2 separate regions of the Homo sapiens genome follow, and region 1 is linked to region 2. The links are contacts of gene promoters, found by promoter capture Hi-C in human tissues and cell types (Jung and others, 2019). All regions are on one chromosome and are shown on one strand. Each heading gives the region's core, a stretch centred on a gene start or on the middle of the fragment in contact. The rest is flanking DNA. Distances are from core to core; before and after follow the strand shown.

What was found. The method cuts DNA at HindIII sites, captures the fragments that hold promoters and counts their contacts. A contact is called where the count stands out against the background at its distance.
Region 1: a fragment that was not itself captured here is called in contact with the fragment with the promoter of FAM131A in region 2 in 1 of the 25 tissues and cell types used here (spleen).

What each region holds. Positions count from the first base shown.
Region 1 is chr3:184,011,174-184,013,873 of GRCh38, reverse strand. All of the region lies in intron 2 of ABCC5 (ATP binding cassette subfamily C member 5), which reads left to right. ABCC5-AS1 (ABCC5 antisense RNA 1) reads right to left here. Exons shown (of 3, transcript NR_046570.1): 3 at 2,455-2,608. Among named protein-coding and RNA genes, the nearest start is that of ABCC5, 5.4 kb to the left of the region's middle. RefSeq lists an enhancer at 2,269-2,700. The HindIII fragment of the contact is 5,237 bases long and covers 1-2,700 here.
Region 2 is chr3:184,336,183-184,338,882 of GRCh38, reverse strand. FAM131A (family with sequence similarity 131 member A) reads right to left here and starts at 1,283. Exons shown (of 6, transcript NM_144635.5): 1 at 1,165-1,283; 2 at 354-496. The coding sequence starts at 1,252. RefSeq lists an enhancer at 130-741 and silencers at 2,540-2,609, 2,533-2,700, 2,650-2,700. The HindIII fragment of the contact is 28,060 bases long and covers 1-2,700 here.

The DNA.
Region 1 (2,700 bases), core at 155-2,654, 330 kb after region 2:
TCTTTATTGGCTTTAGGTTACTGTTAAGAATTTATGGTTATTGATAAGTCTCTGGTCCATAGTAAGCACTCAATAAGTGGAAGAGAGGCTGGCTGTCACCCTCTCACCCGGTCTGTTCTGAGCATTCTCCTCTTTTTCACTTTTATTCTATGTTGGTGCCTTCTGAAAAGGCTATACTTAACAGAAGACAACTTATTGAGGGGGAGGGGGTCATGGGGTCAATGACAGGGAATATAAAGCCAATTAAGCTTCATTCATGTACCTAAACAAAATTGGTGTTTTCTTCTACTTTCTGTCATGTGTGTTTAAAATGTGAACCTGGCCAGGCACAGTGGCTCATGCTTGTAATCCCAGCACTTTGGGAGGTTGAGGTGGGTGGGTCACTTGAGGTCAGGAGTTTGAGACCAGCCTGGCCAACACGGTGAAACCCTGTCTCTGCTAAAAATACAAAAATTAGTGAGGTGTGGTGGTGGGCACCTGTACTCCCAGCTACTCAGGAGGGAGGCAGGAGAATTGCTTGAATCCAGGAGGCAGAGGTTGCAGTGAGCCAAGATCACGCCACTGCACTCCAGCCTGGGCAACAGAGTGAGACTCCGTCTCCAAAAAAATAAAAAATAAAATAAAATGTGAATCCTTTGGAGAGACTCAGATTTCAGAACAATTCTAGATAGTTGTGGGATTATCAGTATGTTTTTCAAGCGAATTCATAAGTTAAGCAGTCTTTAGATAATAATCTAATTTCCTCCAAGGGAAATAATGAAGATGCGTTTTTACCTCGAGAAAATATTCTTTTTCCTGAGGAAAAAAAGCATTATACCTTTTCTTACAAAAGTACCTAATAAGGCAGAATGGACTAGGTTTAGGAAGTTGAGGTTTTTGTTGGTGTATTTGTTATGTGAAAATTTGAGAAAGATAATGGACTTTGCAGCTGACACTGGCCTTTCCTTAGCCTGATACTACCTTTCCCTCTTTGGTTGTGTTAAAGCCATTGCTTTATTAATGAACATTTTCTTGCTAATGAGTCTTTTCTGTACCCTACTGTGTATTATAGAATGCTTTTCCATTCAGGTTTAACTTCAGAGAAACAGGCTTAATGTAATCAGTGTCAAATGCTTCTCGTGGTGCCAGTTTTATAACTTCCTCATGTCCTTTTGTCTAGACCTTATGTTGATTAAACATCTATCCATTACATCTGAGTGCTAGACACATTTAGTGTAACAGTTAAGTCTGGAAAAAGTCAGAAGGTAACATTGGGGCAGGGCCTTAAAGGGTGATTAGGTGGGGAGGCTTTTTAGGCGGTACAAGTACAGACCCAAAGGTATGGAAAGAGCGTGTGACATATTGGGACTTTGGATAAGCTACTTACGTCATTTGTATATAAAATGGGGTTGACAGTAGTACCTGACTCATGGGATCACTGAGGAGTAAATGAGATAATACATATAAAATATTTAAAATGGTACCTGGCACATGGCCAGTGCTCAATAAATGTTAGCTCTTAGAACTAGTTGTTCAGGGCATAGGATGTGTAAAGAGATTATAGGTCGGGTGAAATTCTGCATGCCATGCTAAGAAATATTTCACTGTGGGCATTAGGGAACTATTGGAAGTTAATGAGATTAAAAAAAAAAACCTTTTTATTTTGAGCTAACTGTAGATTTACATGCAATTATAAAAAATAATATAGAGATCCTATATATTCTTCATCCAGTTTCCCCCAGTGGTAACATCTTGCATAACTATAGTCCAGTATCACAACAGGATAATGATTGACATTGATACAATCCATTGACTTTAGGATTTCACCAGTTTTATATGCACTCATTTGTGTGTGTGTGTGTGTGTGTGTGTGTGTGTGTTGTGTTCTATGCATTTTTTAAAGGTGTAAATTTGTGTGACCGCTTCCACAGTCAGGATGCAAAGGTTCCATCACAAGGATCTCTCGTTACCCTTTTATAGCCACAGTCATGTCCCCTCAACCCCAGTCTCTGGCAACTGCTAATCTTTTCTCCATTTCTGTAATTTTGTCATTTTAAGAATGCTATATACATTGAATCATATAGTATATAACCTTTCGAGATTGCTTTTTTCACTCAGCTGAACTCCCTTGATAGCCATCTAATTTTGTTGTGTGCATCAATAGTTCTTTCCTTTGTATTGCTGAGTAGCATTCCGTGTTATAGATGTACCATAGCTTCTTTAACCATTCATTTGTTAAAGGACATATGGGTCATTTCCAGTTAATGGCAATTATACATAAAGGTGCTCTGAACCTTCAGTTACAGGATTTTGTGTGAACATAAGCTTTTATTTCTCTGGATTAATGCCCAGGACTGCGCTTGCTGGGTCATATGGTAAGTGCATATTTAGTTTGTAAGAAACTGCAGTACTCTTTCCCAGAGTGTCTGTGCCATTTTACATTCCCACCAGCAATGATCCAGTTTTTCCACATTGTTGCCAGTACTCAATGTTATAATGTTTATTTTAGCCATTCCTATAGATGTGCCTGGTATCTGATTGTGGTTTTAATTTGCAGTTCCCTAATGGCTACGATGTTTGAGAGTAGATTTTTATCTTAGATTAGTCTTGAAGCAATGCAGAAAAAAACCTGTACAGGAGAAAGAGACCAAATATAAAGAGCATTCAGGAAGCGGCTCTGCCTATCCATGTCAGAGAGGCCAGGGTTCTGTTGTAAAGCAC
Region 2 (2,700 bases), core at 34-2,533:
GCTTCGCTCCCCTCAGCCGCCGCCATCCGTGCCCGGCGCTCCGCGCAGCTGCGGCCCAGGCCCAGAGAAAAGGTGTATGTCTCCCTGGCAACCCATCACCACGCAACAGGGTCTCCCGGGATACGGCCCGGGATGCGCTGACGTCAGCGCGGAAGGCGCGAGCTCTCCGCCTGCTGGCACAGCGCCGAGCAGAGCAGACCGGCACGGGGGCGGCCTCCCGGCCCGCCGCCGGATAGCGCCTCCGCCCGCCGGAAAAGGGAGCCAGAAGCTGGCTGGCCAGGCGTGGGTGGGGGCTGCAGATCCCCTTTATATGGATGACGTCCTCCTTCCCCCCACCACCAGGGGCCCAGCACCTCTGGCAAGTCCTGACTGTCCACCGAGGAAGGGCGGGAGGACCTGCTCCAGCCTCGGAGGGTTCGAGCAGATCCCAAAGAGGATAGAGAGAGACCCCGAGGAAGTTCGATCCACTCCACAGCCCAAGCGGGGTCCGAGGACACTGAGAGGAAGGGGAAAGGCTGTTGAGCTGTGCCCCTACTTCTGCAGAGATCCCCATTTTCATCCAGTATTGCCGTATCATTTCTCGGCCCCTCCCCCACCTTCCAGAAGACCAGCGCCCACTGAGTGCTCTCCTCAACTCTAAAAGCCCCCATCCCACACATCACTGACCCTCGGGCCCCTGGGGCCATTCTGTGGCAGCCCACTTGCCACCTTCCTGCTCTGGATAAATTTTGCCTCAAAACCCTAGGGTGAAACCAAACAATGATAAATTCTGACTCTCCTTCCCGTTTCCCAGCCTACCCATTCCTCTTGGAAAGCACACTGAGTTCTTCCGCCATCACTGTCCCCCCCACCACCGCCACCCTGGACCCTTTGCAGGAGGGTTGCCTTCCTTCTCTCTTCCTGCTGCCTTCTTTCCTCTCGCCAGCCTCAGCTGGTCCACAGCTCTTTACTCTTCTTTTCTGACGAACTCATGATATTTTTTCTGATTTTCACCCCTGTCCCCTGAAGCCGTTTCCTGATGCCCTGTCTGGCCCCAGCCTGGTTCTCCCTGTTTCAGCCTGGTTCTTAATATCTAAGCCAGAGTAATTTTCCTTTTCCACCTAAGCACCCTACTGCTCAGCTTCCCATCATCTCCCAGATCACATCCATGATCCCTGGTCTCACCTCTGCGACTTGTCTGACAAGTCCATCGTCCTCCAGGCCCTTCACGCTGCCACAGAAACATTTTGCCCAGCACAGAAATCATAGGCATGCTGGCTGTGTTGATGCAGAGAACCAAAAGCCCAGAACCGCTCCAGGCTCAGCTCCCAGTTCTATTCCTGTTTTGGCTCCGGATGCTGAGCCAGTCCCCTCCCCATTTGGAACCTGTGCCTAGTCACATAAGGAGAACATTCCTGCCTCATGGCTCTGAGGAGGTGGGAACACCAGGGCTCAGCCAAGCTCTCTGGGACTCGGGGAGCTGAGGCCCATTCCCTAGACAGTGCCAACAGGCAATGTACATCACAACTGACCTTTAGCTGGAGCAGCCGTCTCTATCCCTGAGCCTCGGCCAGCTGTTGGTCCCCAGAAATGCTACCAACCAGAAGGAAAACAGGAGGTTACAGGCCATCCCTGGCCCCCAACTGGTACCTAACCAGGGCTCTCGAGGCCAGTCCTGAGGTCAGCCAAACTCACCCCTGACAAGAGAAGGTGATGACTTCCTGAACTCCAAGCCTTGATAGGGCCAGAGAGATCAGAGCAGTCAGCTGCTCCTCAGCTTCAAAAGCCACGAGGTTAACTTAGGACTACAAATCCCAGAATTCCTCAAGGGAAGTACAAATCTCAGCCAGTCTTAGCTCCAAAGAACATCAAGTACCAACCACACCAAGGCCTGTGTGACTGACCACCTGCCCTGAAGGTCCAGGACCCATCCCAAACCCAGTCCTGCCTTGCCTTATGCGTGGAGAAATCCACCACACCGGAGTAAAGGAAGCTGGCCGACCTCTGATGCACAGGACTACGGCCAGGCCCGGTGTGCATGGCCACCCACGGAAACCGAGGCCCAGGCAGGGGTCAGCACTGTGGGAAGGAAGCCCTGATGGCCTGCCTCTGGGTTCCTCTTTCCCTCCACAGAGTAGAGTGATTTGTTTTTGCTGAGTGGGGGCAGGACATTAAAACAACTGTAATAGGTGAGAGGTGATTCAGTGTTCACAGGTGCCCCAAACGGGACCTCAGTCCCCCTTCGCCGACTGACTGAAGAGGGGAGTCAATGTCCGACAAAAATTCTGTGGTAGGGTGCTTAGCCAGGACCGAAAGGCTACCTCTTTAAGAAGATGGGGACACGGCTGGGAGAAGCAGGTTCCCAGCACAGGGCCACTCCCAGGACTGTGAAGGCAGAGGTGTAGGCGGAGGGGAGTGTGTGTGTGGGCGCGCAAGGCCAGTCGCCGAGGGCTGGAGTGGTGGGGGCATCGGGCTGCCCAGCCCCTCCCGGGGCTGTGCGTCTCCGGCCACCCTGAGCAGTGGGCACACGGCAGCCAGCGGCGAGACCATGCGTCTGCCCTGCAAAACCCCAAGGCAGGCAGGCCGTGGGAGCGAACCGGAGTCGGTCTGGCCCCTTCCCTGCTCATTCCCGCTCCCTCCTGTTGCCTGGCCCGCCTCCCGGTGCAGGCTCCTCCCTCTCCCGACACCGGCCCCCTCCTCAAGGCCCCCACCCACCCGCGG